Regions from separate parts of the Homo sapiens genome. Here all the other regions are linked to region 1. Evidence: promoter capture Hi-C in 16 types of primary human blood cells and fetal thymus (Javierre and others, 2016). All regions are on one chromosome and are shown on one strand. The core of a region is centred on a gene start or on the middle of the fragment in contact, and the rest is flanking DNA. Distances in the headings are between cores, read along the strand shown. Region 1 holds the start of FXYD1 (FXYD domain containing ion transport regulator 1). Region 2 holds the start of SDHAF1 (succinate dehydrogenase complex assembly factor 1). Region 3 holds the start of LRFN3 (leucine rich repeat and fibronectin type III domain containing 3). Region 4 holds the start of NPHS1 (NPHS1 adhesion molecule, nephrin). Region 5 holds the start of UPK1A-AS1 (UPK1A antisense RNA 1).

What was found. The method cuts DNA at HindIII sites, captures the fragments that hold promoters and counts their contacts. A CHiCAGO score of 5 or more calls a contact.
Region 2: a contact is called between the fragment with the promoter of SDHAF1 here and the fragment with the promoter of FXYD1 in region 1, in 9 of 17 cell types (neutrophils, activated CD4 T cells, total B cells and 6 more). The highest score is 14.9, in neutrophils.
Region 3: a contact is called between the fragment with the promoter of LRFN3 here and the fragment with the promoter of FXYD1 in region 1, in 3 of 17 cell types (neutrophils, erythroblasts and monocytes). The highest score is 6.9, in neutrophils.
Region 4: the fragment with the promoter of NPHS1 here is called in contact with the fragment with the promoter of FXYD1 in region 1 in 2 of 17 cell types (activated CD4 T cells and monocytes); the score reaches 6.3 in activated CD4 T cells.
Region 5: the fragment with the promoter of UPK1A-AS1 here is called in contact with the fragment with the promoter of FXYD1 in region 1 in 2 of 17 cell types (neutrophils and erythroblasts); the score reaches 9.8 in neutrophils.

Annotation. Positions count from the first base shown.
Region 1 is chr19:35,137,564-35,140,099 of GRCh38, reverse strand. FXYD1 (FXYD domain containing ion transport regulator 1) reads right to left here and starts at 1,276. Exons shown (of 8, transcript NM_021902.4): 1 at 1,206-1,276; 2 at 1-24. The coding sequence starts at 20. The HindIII fragment of the contact is 25,239 bases long and covers 1-2,536 here.
Region 2 is chr19:35,993,924-35,996,459 of GRCh38, reverse strand. It overlaps SDHAF1 (succinate dehydrogenase complex assembly factor 1), which reads right to left and starts at 1,272. Exons shown (of 1, transcript NM_001042631.3): 1 at 148-1,272. The coding sequence starts at 1,185. The coding sequence ends at 838. RefSeq lists silencers at 816-935, 966-1,025 and enhancers at 1,086-1,165, 1,426-1,475, 1,810-2,309. The HindIII fragment of the contact is 4,511 bases long and covers 127-2,536 here.
Region 3 is chr19:35,935,088-35,937,623 of GRCh38, reverse strand. It overlaps LRFN3 (leucine rich repeat and fibronectin type III domain containing 3), which reads right to left and starts at 1,250. Exons shown (of 3, transcript NM_024509.2): 1 at 69-1,250. The HindIII fragment of the contact is 21,793 bases long and covers 1-2,536 here.
Region 4 is chr19:35,851,254-35,853,789 of GRCh38, reverse strand. It overlaps NPHS1 (NPHS1 adhesion molecule, nephrin), which reads left to right and starts at 1,286. Exons shown (of 29, transcript NM_004646.4): 1 at 1,286-2,010; 2 at 2,118-2,333; 3 at 2,406-2,528. The coding sequence starts at 1,953. It also overlaps a transcript of KIRREL2 not described here. RefSeq lists enhancers at 1,358-1,999, 2,000-2,536. The HindIII fragment of the contact is 3,857 bases long and covers 1-2,536 here.
Region 5 is chr19:35,672,024-35,674,559 of GRCh38, reverse strand. UPK1A-AS1 (UPK1A antisense RNA 1) reads left to right here and starts at 1,269. Exons shown (of 2, transcript NR_046420.1): 1 at 1,269-1,325. UPK1A (uroplakin 1A) reads right to left here. Exons shown (of 8, transcript NM_007000.4): 4 at 1,254-1,328; 5 at 1,015-1,122. The HindIII fragment of the contact is 2,419 bases long and covers 7-2,425 here.

The sequences.
Region 1 (2,536 bases), core at 27-2,526:
ATGTGGCCAAGAGACGCCATTGTCCTGGGGGGGACACCACGGATTAGGCAGTGTGTGCCCTTGCTCTCCCACATAGGGCTTGAACCCAAGGGATTAAGTCAGAGACAGTCTGGGGACTGAATCACAGAAGTGTTTGTCCTCTATCTTGGTGGCTCCAAGCTAGAGAAACGGGTATCCCCAGCTTCGTGGGGACACAGTGTCACCAAAACAACCTCCACGATGGGATCACACAACAACACAACGTAGCAGGGACGGGGGTGAGACACACAGTCCCCGGGGGGCCTCCCTTGGGCCTCCACCTCCCGCAGCAGGCCCCCGATTCCCAGACCTACCCTGGCAGGGCAGAGGAGGCGCTGCCTCACACAAACACAGAGCAGGAGACAGCAGGGCACGCCCAAGTCCCACCTGCCTACATGCCCGGCCTCACTGTGCCCCGCGAAATCCCAGCTCCCTGCCCTCTCCGCCCGCCCGCTCGCGGCCTGACCCCGGGTATAAATATCTCCCACTTCACCCTGGAGGAATTCTGCTCGCTCAGGCCACCATGGCAACAGCCTGCCTTCCCCCACTCAGGGGGTCACGCACAGCCCTGCCGGGGTGAGGCCCAGCTGCCACATCGCCACAGGCTGCCCCTGTGGGAAAGGTCACCCCGTCTCCTCCCTGGGCAGCAACGAGAAAAGGAAAAGACAGCCCCTCTGCCCGCCTCTGGGTGACATCTTTCACAATCGGATGTCAGGCAAGTGACATGAGGCCCAGCCCAGTGGGCCTTAGAGATAGAAAACACATGCTGGGGCAGGGATACACACACACACACACACACACACACACACACACACACACAGTGGGGCCGGAATGGACATGAACAACAACCTCTCCCCAAACTGCTGGTTGGAGCAGGACGTGGGGTGTAAACACCGTCAGGCATCCAATACTCCTCCTCTGGGCCTCCGGTGCCCCCACGCAGTGACGCAACCAGCCCTACACACGTGTGTGTCCCAACTCCACACCCTGCCAGGGTGCACACGCACCAGCAGGGCAGGGAGGAGTCACCCACATCCCACCCTGCAGAACCCACTGCCTCAACCACACTCCCTCCCTCTTGGGTTGGCCTGCCTGGGAAGCCTCGGGCTGGCCACTCCTGCTCCCAAAATAGGCGGCCCAGCCAGACCAGGGGTGAGGCCTGGAGGGAAGGAGTGGGGGACGCTCACCCCAATCGGGCTGTCCCCTGCTGAAAGAAGGCCCCCAAACGTCCTGCTGTGCCCCGGGGGCTGAGCACTTTGGACCCCCTGGCCCAGAGCTGGACGCGCCGCCCCCAGCAGCCTCCCCTCCCAGCCCCACCCCACCCATGCCCTCCCCAACCAGCAGCTGAAACTGGAGCTGGGGCTGGAGGGGGGCCAGGGGGCGGCCCCCAGCCCAGACTGCCCTGGCCCGCTTGGTTAACTCTCTCAGTTCAGAGAGAGCAGCAGCAGGCAGCCAGCAGGCAGGCTGGAGAGGCTAGGAGGATTGTGGAGGACAGGGTTGTGAACACACACACACACAAACACACACGCCTCCAAGAGCTTTTGGGCTGAGGCGGCTGCCCCCTGGGAACTGGGTCCAGCCAGGGCCGAAGGTCACCCAGCCTGACTGCCCAGGAGCCCACTGACCCCCGATCCCAGTGCTCCGTGAGGTCCTTAACAGGGCTGTTTTAGAGGACGGGAGGGAGGTGTGTGTGTGTGTGTGTGTGTGCGCGCGCATGTGCGCTATCTGCTGTGGTGAGATCCCCAGAAATGCACCACACACACACACCCACACACAATCCCAAAGACCCAGATATACAGGTACAAAACCAGACAAAACCATGTATGTATGTACATCCATAGAAGCAGACACACACAGAATGACACACTGATAGAGAAACCCAAAGACCCGGACACACAGCCAACACCTTTTATGCCAGTCACAAAATACCAGAACAAGCACATTTATGTCTACACAGACCCACGCACGCTCATGTAGATGGATGGCCACACAGAGATACAGTCAAAGACATAGCCACATCACCATCTACACTCACAAACTGGCCACAAAAATGCATGTTTATGTGAAGACCCACCCACAAATGGCCATACAGAAACACACAAGTATGTGCACACCGCACATAAATGCATTCTAAGATGCATGGCCAAACATGGCCAGGTACGGTGGCTCACACCTGTACTCCCAGCACTTTGGGAGGCCAAGGCGGGAGGATCACTTGAGGCCAGGAGTTCAACACCAGCCTGGCCAACCCGACGAGAGCTCGTCTCTACTAAAAAAATATACAAAAATTAGCTGGGTGTGGTGGCGTGCGCCTGTAATCACGGCTACTCCGGAGGCTGAGGCAGGAGAGTCACTTGAGCCCGGGAGGCAGAGCTTGCAGTGAGCTGAGATCATGCCACTGCACTCTAGCCTGGGCAACAGAGCGAGACTCTGTCTCAAAAACAAAAACAAAACAAAAAAACCCCAAAGGTACAGACATGCAGCCAGCACTCCTACATGGTCCCAAAGATAGGAAGGC
Region 2 (2,536 bases), core at 23-2,522, 860 kb before region 1:
TCCGGAAGGAGTCAGATCCCCACACCTATCACCTCCCAGATGGTCCCTTCCAGGTGTCTGTGTGCGTGTGTGTGTGGTGGCAGGGGGGCTGGGGGTGTTTCAAAAATCCTGAAATATATAAAAGCTTTAAGACCACCAACAGGGAAGTAGACATATCCCCAATTTTATTCCCTTTGTCCAACATTCCGAGAGGGAAGGGGCAAATGAGTCAATGTTGCCCCTCAAAACCATCAAGTAGGGGCCTTTGGGGGTCTTCAGTTGATCAACCAGGGTGATAGACCCCTACCCCTTCCTCATGGTCCTGGCTTGTCACAATTAATGGGGGAAAGTTTTCCAGAAGGGGATTCCGGGCTTCTCACCGCTCATCAGGGCACCTTCCCAAAACGTTCTCAGCAAAAAGTCTGCACTTCTCAGAGTTAAATACAGGAGAGGGGAGACTCCTTGAGGAGCCAGAAGTGGGTATGTTCTCAGGGGTCAAGAGAAGGGCGTCTCAGGCTCTCCCTGTCCACCGGGGGTCGTCCTGGCTCCCCGTACCTTCGGGCAAGTAGCTCTTGGCTTGACACTGTCCAGCCCGCCAGCGTCCCAGGCCGCCCCAAGCCCTCATGGGGGAGGAGCACCGACCTGTCTCCAAGCATCGGAAAAGGCGGGCCTCCCTTGCCGTCCATCACGGGGCTCTCTAGGCCCCCTGCGTCGCCAAGGAGGAGTCTCTGACATCCCCAATTCGTCAAGCTAGTCTCTTAAGACCTCTCACCTTAGGCGGGTTCCCCAGTCCCCCCATGCAGTCAGGCGAGCCTCCTGGCTCCACCACGCCATCGAGCGAGTTCGGCTCTTCGCCTGTCACCGTCCGTCGGGGCGGGTCTCCGGTGCCCCCGTGCTGTCGTGGGGGTTCCTTGGACTGTCGCCGTCGTCAGGCTGGCAACCCACGCCGCCAGGCTCCCCGGTCGGGGCCCGCGGGCGTACGAAGGCGCCCATGGCGGTGGCGTGGCCCGAGCGTAGCAGCTGCAGCTGGCGCCGCCCGCGGCGGTACAGGTACTCGATGCGCAGCACGTCGGACCGCGGCAGGCCCGCATGCTGCCGGAACTCTGCCCGCACTCGCGCCTCGGCGCCCGGCTTCCCACGCCCGGCGCGCAGCAGATCGCGGTACAGGCTCAGAACCTGCCTCTGCAGCCGGCTGTGCCGGCTCATGACCGCGGCTAAGCAGAGACGCTCAGCGAACGACCTGCGAACCGCGGAGCCGCCACACAGCCAGCAAAGGCCAAAGGGCAAAGCCACAGCCACTTCCGCCCAGCGCTTCCCTTGGCCTCCAACTCCCGCCTCCCGCCATCCGGCGCTGCCGCGTCTGACTGGCTGTCGTTGCAGTTACGTAACAGCCGGCTGGGAGAAGTGGGCGGAGTCGCTGGTCGCGGCCTCCCACGTAGGGGACGTGTGTTCTTGAGGGGACAGCAGTTCTGGGGATCCTGGCACCGCCTGGAGGGCGTTATGTGTTCGGACTCCTAGGTCTTGGGTTGGAGGGAACAGAGGGTCCTCACCTAACTCCTGCATTCTGGGAGAAGAGGAAGCTAGGGGTTTTTTTGTGTGTGACGGGGTCTCGCTGTCGCCCAGGCTGGAGTGCAGTGGCGCGATCTTGGCTCACTGCAGCCTCGAACTCCTGGGCCCAAGCGATCCTCCCACCTCAACTCCCCTAGTAGCTGGAACCACAGACGCGCGCAACCGCGCCCGCTATTTATTTATTTATTTATTTATTTATTTATTTATTTATTATTATTATTATTTGCAGAGATGGGTCTCCCTATGTTGCCCAGAATGGCTCGAACTCCTGGGCTCAAACGATTCTCAGCCTCCCAAAGTGTTGGGATTCCAGGCGTGAGCCACCGCGCCCGGCTACCGGTTCGGACTTTGGGTCCCAAGGGCACGGGGCACTGGGAGAGACGCCGGGCACAAGCGTGCTTTTGCCGTCAGTTACTGATTCAAACCATCTTGGGAAGCTCCGTGCGTTCCCTCGTCCGGGGCAGGTCTGTGTCTGGGGTCCCAGCCCTGGGCACGTGCAGAGGGACGAGACCCCGTAGGGAAATGGCTCTCGGCCGGTTGGACAGGCTTCTCGGGCCAGGGGAAGACAAGCAGAGAGAGTGTGGGCGCCAAGCCCCCAGAGGCAGCGTGTGGCTCTAGGAGCTGGGTTGGTCGCGCCCTCTGCGGGTGGGAGTCGGGGCAGTGGACAGCGGTGTTTGGGTCCTTACCGACTGTTAAAGCCCGGAGTCCGGGACACCCTGAACAGTCGACTAGACTGCAACCCCGTTGTCCTCCCAGGAGCTTTAGGTGGTAGGCCGCAATGCCGTTGTTGTCCCCGCGGGCCGCCTGGAGGTGTCCTCGTAGCGCTAGGGAGGCCCGCAAGGACACAGCATCCTCGGGCCCCACCAGCACCGGAGCTTGGGGGACCCCTCCACCCAGCGCGCAACCGCGGCTCTGCACACTTGGGCCGGCAACCAGCTGGGGGGTCCATTCCCCTTCAGAGAGGAGAAGCTGGTCAGGGGCGGGGATT
Region 3 (2,536 bases), core at 1-2,500, 800 kb before region 1:
GGTACCGTAACCCGCAGCCACAATGCTCCTCCCAGCCCGTCCCCACCTTGAGGTTTCAGCAGCCTTACCTGAGCTAGAAGCAGCCCCAGGGAGCAGAGTCCTAGCTCCAGGGGAGTCAGAGGTCAGGGCTCTGGAGGGAGCATCTGGTCATGCTTTTCCTGTCCCCAAGGCTTCTGTAGAGGGACTGTGTCCTGACTCGGCTCAAATCTGTGGCAACGGAGTCTCCAGACCTTAATACTCGGGGTTCCAGACCCCTAAATATTGGGCCTCTAGGGTCCAGTTTTACGGGTCCAGTTTGGGTTGTTCAGGGTCAGGGTCTCCCAGGTCCAGTCTTGGGATGCTAAGCAGCCAAACGGTGGGGTTTAGAGTCTGAGATCCGATCCCGGGGTTCTGCATTCAGATATTGGGGTGCTGAGTCAAGATTGGGAGGTCTCAAGCCCCAGATTTAAGCACTCAGGTCTGCAGCAAGGACTTCAGGCCCAAACTCGGGTTCAGGCCCCTTGGAATCCCACAGTCCAGATCTTGGAATTTGAGGCCTGAATCCCAGGGTTCAGGTCCCCAAGAGTGGGTTCCAGGGTACAGTACTGGAAATCCAGTCCCAGATTTCAAGGTCCCAGGCCCAGAATTCAGAGTTCAGCTCCAGGCTTGAGGTTTTAGATGTCAAATCTTGGGGTTCTGCTCCAAATATTGGGGTCTGTGTTCCAAATTGTGGGGTTCCGGCTCCAAATATTGAGGTCCCAGTGACCGATGTTGAGATTCCAGCCCCATATACTGGGGTTCAGGCTCCAGATCTTGGGGTTCCACGGCCGGATCTCGGGGTGCTGGTCCCAGATCAGGGTTCCAGGCTCGGGTTTCCGGAATTCCCGATTCAATCTGGGGGTGCAGGCCCCCGAGGTGGAGGTTAGGGCGCGGGGTCCGGGGCGGCGGCGTCCCGGCTGGCTTCCTGGGCTGCGGCGGAGGCTGACTGGGAGGGAGGGGACCGGCTGCGGTGGGGAGGGGGGCGACCGGGCAGCCCCAGGGCCGGGTGGGGCGAGGCCTGGGAGCGGAGGGACGGTCAGACAGACTGGGACACGCGGGATGGGGGCACCGCAGCGCAGGCGGGGGCGCAGGGGGGAGGGGCCGCGCTCAGAGACCCCTCCCCCGCCGGGGCCGAGGCGGGGGCCGGGCGGGGGCCGGGCTGGGCGGGCCGGGTCCAGGCGCTCCCGCGGCCTCCTCGCCGGCAACCCAGGGCAGCGCGCGCACCGGCGCTTAAAGGCGCAGGCTCCGCGCGCACCCGCGCTTAAAGGCGTAGGCACCCGCCCCTTCTCTCAAAGACGCGCCCCGGCCCCACCTCCCATGGAGTCGCACTGGCGCTGCTGGGAAAGAGAATCCCTGGATACAGAGAGACTGAGACAGAGAGACAGAGAAGAACGGAGATACAGAAAGGCAGACAAAAAGATGGGCAGGCTTAGATTGATGGATAGAGAGGAGAAAATGGAAAGAGGCAGAGAGACAGATTGAAACACACACATATTCGAGACATGGAAATGCACAGAGACAGCGAGACACAGAGAGTGATGGAGAGACAAGAGATAAGGACAAGTCAGAGAAAGACAGAAACAGAGATAGAGACGTGCGTGCGCGCGCACACACAGACACACACATACACACTCACACGCTCTAAGACGCAGCACCTGGGCTGTGAGAATGGTATGTGTGTATGTGCATTCAGTAACTATTCCTAGCCTTGAGTGTAGCGCTTCATTCCAGAGCCACTGGCCCCCCAAACCTGTCTCTTTCTGCCCCCCTTATCTCAGCACCACCTCCCTGGAATGTCCTTTCCACGGTTGGAGTTTCCTTACCTGGCCATGCCCAGCAATAGGCTTGATCTTTCAGGCCAGAGGGGCTCCTTCCCAAGGCTCCTTTCTCTGCCTGCAAGAGGGAAAACTTGTGCCATCTGGGATTAGGGAAAGACCTCAAGACACACTGACAGCCGGGGGCGGTGGCTCACGCCTGTAATCCCGGCTCGTTGGGAGGCCAAGGCGGGCGGATCTTTTGAGATCAGGCGTTGGAGACCAGCCTGGCCAACATGGAGAAACCCCGTCTCTACTAAAAATACAAAAATTAGCCGGGTGTGGTGGCGGACGCCCGTAATCCCAGCTACTCGGGAGGCTGAGGCAAGAGAATTGCTTGAACCCGGGAGGTGGAGATTGTAGTGATCTGAGATCCAGCCATTGCACTCCAGCCTGGGTGACAGAGTGAGACTCTGTCTTTAAAAGAAAGAAAGAAAGAAAGAAAAGCAGAGAGGGATGCCTTGCCTTGCAGGAGCCAGGCCAGGTGTCCTTGCAGTGCAGCCCACCAGGATCACCCGGGGGCACCATAGATCTCCAGGTCCCAACCTCAGAGTTTCTGGTTCAGTGGGTCTGAGGTGGGACCCAAACATTTGCATTTTTAACGAGTACCCAGGTGATGCTAATGTGACTTTTCAAAGACCATACTTTTTTTTTTGAGACAGGGTCTTGCTTTGTCACCCAGTACATTGGTGCAATCATAATTG
Region 4 (2,536 bases), core at 37-2,536, 710 kb before region 1:
GAGGCAGAAAGAACACTTGAGCCTAGGAGGTTTGAGGCTTCAATGAGCCATGATCACACCACTGCACTCCAGCCTGGGCAATAGAGAAAGACCCTGTCTCTACAAACAAATTTTAAAAAATTAGCTGGAGTGGTGGTGTGCACCTGTAGTCCCAGCTATTCAGGAGGCTGAGGCAGGAGGATCACCTGAGCCCAGGAAGTTGAGGCTGCAATGAACCAAGATCATGCCACTGCCCTCCAGCCTGGGCAACAGAGCAAGATTCCATCTCAAAAGAAAGAAAGATAAATCAAGATAGATAGAGGGAGGGAGAGAGAGAGACATGGAGAAGGAAAGAAGAGATGGGAGAGAGGGCAAGAAAAAGAGGGAGAAGAAAGCTCATGCAGTCCTTGCCAAAGGGCGCCCACTTTGGGCTCACACTGCACCCACACTGGGGGCCGGTGGAATTGGACTCTGCCTTTTACTCCCGCCCACACCCTGTGCACTCCCACGTAAGACACTGTCACACACACGCTCTCCACATGCTTATTACAGATCGCAGTTCACTCTAACCTTCCCCACTCTCACACCCACGTACACACATGCATATCTTCCCTCTCTCCCACACTCTCCCAGCCTGTCACACTCACTCTTGCATCCTCCCCAGCAGAGATCCCTGACATCATTTAGGCACTGATGTCTACTAAAAAAGGAAGGGAGGCCAGGTGCGGTGGCTCATGTCTGTAATCCCAGCATTTTGGGAGGCTGAGGCAGATGGATCACCTGAGGTCAGGAGTTCGAGACCAGCGTGGCCAACATGATGAAACCCCGTCTCTAGTAAAAATACAAAAATTAGCCAGGCATGGTGCTATATACCTGTAGCACCAGCTACTTGGGAGACAGAGGTGGGAGAATTACTTGAACCTGGGAGGTTCAAGCCATGGGAGGTGGAAGTTGCAGTGAGCCGAGATGCCACTGCACTCCAGCCTGAGCAACAGAGCAAGACTATCTCAAGAAAAGAAAGAAAGAAAGAAAGAGACTTGCCAAGGTCATGTATCAGGGCAAGGAAGAGCTGGGGGCCCAGCTGGCTGCTCCCCTGCTGAGCTGGGAGACCACCTTGATCTGACTTCTCCCATCTTCCCAGCCTAAGCCAGGCCCTGGGGTCACGGAGGCTGGGGAGGCACCGAGGAACGCGCCTGGCATGTGCTGACAGGGGATTTTATGCTCCAGCTGGGCCAGCTGGGAGGAGCCTGCTGGGCAGAGGCCAGAGCTGGGGGCTCTGGAAGGTACCTGGGGGAGGTTGCACTGTGAGAATGAGCTCAAGCTGGGTCAGAGAGCAGGGCTGACTCTGCCAGTGCCTGCATCAGCCTCATCGCTCTCCTAGGCTCCTGGCCTGCTGGACTCTGGGCTGCAGGTCCTTCTTGAAAGGCTGTGAGTAGTGAGACAAGGAGCAGGAGTGAGGGGTGGCAGGAGAGAAGATAGAGATTGAGAGAGAGAGAGAGAGAGAGACAGAGAGAGAGGAAGAGACAGAGACAAAAGGAGAGAGAACGGCTTAGACAAGGAGAGAAAGATGGAAAGATAAAGAGACTGGGCGCAGTGGCTCACGCCTGTAATCCCAACACTTGGGGAGGCCAAGGTGGGAGGATGGCTTGAAGGAAAGAGTCTGAGATCAACCTGGCCAACATAGTGAGACCCCGTCTCTAAAAAAAAAAAAAAGAAAAAAAAAAGAAAAAAGAAAAAAAAGTTTTTTTAAAGAGACAGAGAAAGAGACTCAGAGATTGAGACTGAGAGCAAGACAGAGAGAGATACTCACAGGGAAGAGGGGAAGAGGAAAACGAGAAAGGGAGGAGAGTAACGGAAAGAGATAAAAAAGAAAAGCAGGTGGCAGAGACACACAGAGAGGGACCCAGAGAAAGCCAGACAGACGCAGGTGGCTGGCAGCGGGCGCTGTGGGGGTCACAGTAGGGGGACCTGTGATGGCCCTGGGGACGACGCTCAGGGCTTCTCTCCTGCTCCTGGGGCTGCTGACTGAAGGTGAGTGGGATCCCAGCCTTGTACCCAGCGCCAAGTGGCCCCCATTTCCCACTTACCTTCCCTAGACAAACCCTCTGCCCTTTCCTTGCACCGCGCTGTGTCCTCAGGCCTGGCGCAGTTGGCGATTCCTGCCTCCGTTCCCCGGGGCTTCTGGGCCCTGCCTGAAAACCTGACGGTGGTGGAGGGGGCCTCAGTGGAGCTGCGTTGTGGGGTCAGCACCCCTGGCAGTGCGGTGCAATGGGCCAAAGATGGGCTGCTCCTGGGCCCCGACCCCAGGATCCCAGGCTTCCCGAGGTACCGCCTGGAAGGGGACCCTGCTAGAGGTAAGGGATCAGAGCCTGAGACCCTCAGCCACCAGCGGAAGCTGCGGCCCTGACTTCCGGCTCCCCCTGCAGGTGAATTCCACCTGCACATCGAGGCCTGTGACCTCAGCGATGACGCGGAGTATGAGTGCCAGGTCGGCCGCTCTGAGATGGGGCCCGAGCTCGTGTCTCCCAGAGTGATCCTCTCCATCCTGGGTATGGGT
Region 5 (2,536 bases), core at 20-2,519, 530 kb before region 1:
AAAGCTTTAAAAGTGCTTTGAAAGGCTGGGCACGGTGGCTCAAGCCTGTAATCCCAGCACTTTGGGAGGCCGAGGCAGGTGGATCACAAGGTCAGGAGATCAAGACCATCCTGGCTAACACCCATCTCTACTAAAAATACAAAAAATCAGCTGGGCGCGGTGGCAGGCGCCTGTAGTCCCAGCTATTCGGGAGGCTGAGGCAGGAGAATAGCGTGAACCCGGGAGGCGGAGCTTGCAGTGAGCCGAGATCGCGCCACTGCATTCCAGCCTGGGCGACAGAGCAAGACTCTGTCTCAAAAAAAAAAAAAAAAAAAAAAAGATAAAAAGAAAAAAAAAAATGTGCTTTGAGGCCAGGCACTCGTGGCTCATGCCTGTGATCTCGGCACTTTGAGAGGCGGAGGTGGGAGAATCGCTCCAATCCTGAGCCCAGGAGTTCCAGACCAGCCTGGGCAATAGAGCAAGACCCCCATCTCCACAAAAGATAATTTAAAAAACTTAGCCGGGTGTGGTGGGGCGCACCTGTATTCCCAGCTACTCGGGAAGCTGAGGCGGGAGGATCACTTGAGCCCAGGAGTTGGAGGTTGCAGTGAGCTATGATCACTCCAGCCTGGGCAACAGAGCAAGACCCCATCTCAAAATATAAAAATAAAAGTCCTTTGAACAGTGTGAAACCTAGCTCAGTGAATGGTGCTGTTACTATCATTGTTATTATCAACATTTCTGTTGAGGTAGTATGTGTAGGCTAAGAGCAGGGAGGTCAGGAGCTAGGCTGCCGGGTTCCAATCCCAGCTCCCACCACTTACCGACTGTGTGGCCTCGGGCAAGGGACTTTCCCTTTCTGGGCCTGTTTACTCATCCGCAGAACGGTGATGACCGCAGCCCTGCTCTCCTAGAGATCTCATGAGCGGATGTCTTTAAGGCACTCACTCCTCTAAAAGCTGGCACATCGGGAGCTCTATCGGCCTCTGTGGACGGAGCCCAGGGCCCTCCCAGCACCCGGTCCACCCCGCCCACCTCAATCATGACGCGGTCCCAGAGGCGGGTCAGCTCCTGGCCCTGGTCGGTGTCCGCGCTGTAGAAGGTCAGCATCTGCTTGGTGATCAGGGATGGGTTGGACACCATCTGAGGAGAACAGGGAAGAACAAGGGCCGGCAGGGCTGGGTGGGGAGAGAGGACGACCTCCGCCCCGCCGCGCCGGGACCCTCGCCCCTCCCATGCAGGTCAGGCCCCTCCCCAGGCCTCGCCGGGCTCACGTAGTCACGGTGGGTGTAGGACGTGATGCAGGAGGCGCACTCGAAGATGTAGACGATGAGCATGAGCACCAGGTACTGGGGAGACAGAGGGAGGACGGCCCGTCGGGCAGAGCCCGTGAAGCCACACCCCGTCAGGGAAGCATCACTGGGGAAATGCAAGTTTTAAAAAAGTTTGGGGCAGTGTGACTAGCAGCATCTATAATATGTGGTGGGTGTTCAGGTGTTCGCTGTATTGTCTTCCAACTTTTCTGTATTTTGAAATATTTAATTTAATTAATTTATTTTTGAGACAGGCGAGGCGTGGTGGCTCACGCCTATAATCCCAGCACTTTGGGAGGCCGAGGGGGCGATCACCTGAGTCAGGAGTTCGAGACCAGCCTGGCCAACATGGTGAAACCCCTTCTCTACTAAAAATACAAAAATTAGGGCTGGGCATTGGTGGCTCACACCTGTAATCCCAGCACTTTGGGAGGCTGAGATGGGAAGATTGCTTGAACCCTGGAGTTCAAGATCAGCCTGGGCAACACAGTGAGACCCCGTCGCTACAAAAAATAAAAATAAAAAAATTAGTTAAGCATAGTTACTACTAGTGGTAGTGTTAGTCCTAGCTATTTGGGAGGCTGAGGTTGGAGGATCGTTTGAGCCCAGTAGTTGGAGGCCTCAGCGAGCTATGATCGCACCACTGCATTCCTGCCTGGGCAACAGAGCAAAACCCTGTCTCTTAAAACAAAACAAACAAGGGTGGGTGCAGTGGCTTACGCCTGTAATCCCAACACTTTGGGAGGTTGAGACGGGTGGATCACCTGAGGTCAGGAGTTCAAGACCAGCCTGACCAATATGGTGAAACCCCATCTACTAAAAATGCAAAAATACAAAAATTAGCTGGGCATGGTGATGGGTGCCTGTAATCCCAGCTACTCAGGAGGATGAGATAGGAGAATAGCTTGAACCCAGGAGGCAGAGGTTGCAATGAGCCGAGATTGTGCCATTACACTCCAGCCTGGGCAACAGAGTGAGACCCTGTCTCTTAAAATAAAACAAACAACATAAAACGATGTTCTCAGATAATCAGAGACATTTGACACAGACTGGGTATTGGAAGATATAGAAGAACTTGATTGAATTTGGTGGGTTGTGCCAACGGCACAGAGGGCAGGAGAAAAAAAAAAGCTTGTCAGTTGATGTTTAATGCAAATTCTTTTCATGTCCTCACCTGGCACCTTCATCTATAAAGCAGCAGGAGGTTGCGTGTGGATGTGTGAACTCTGCTGCTGGGAGATGGA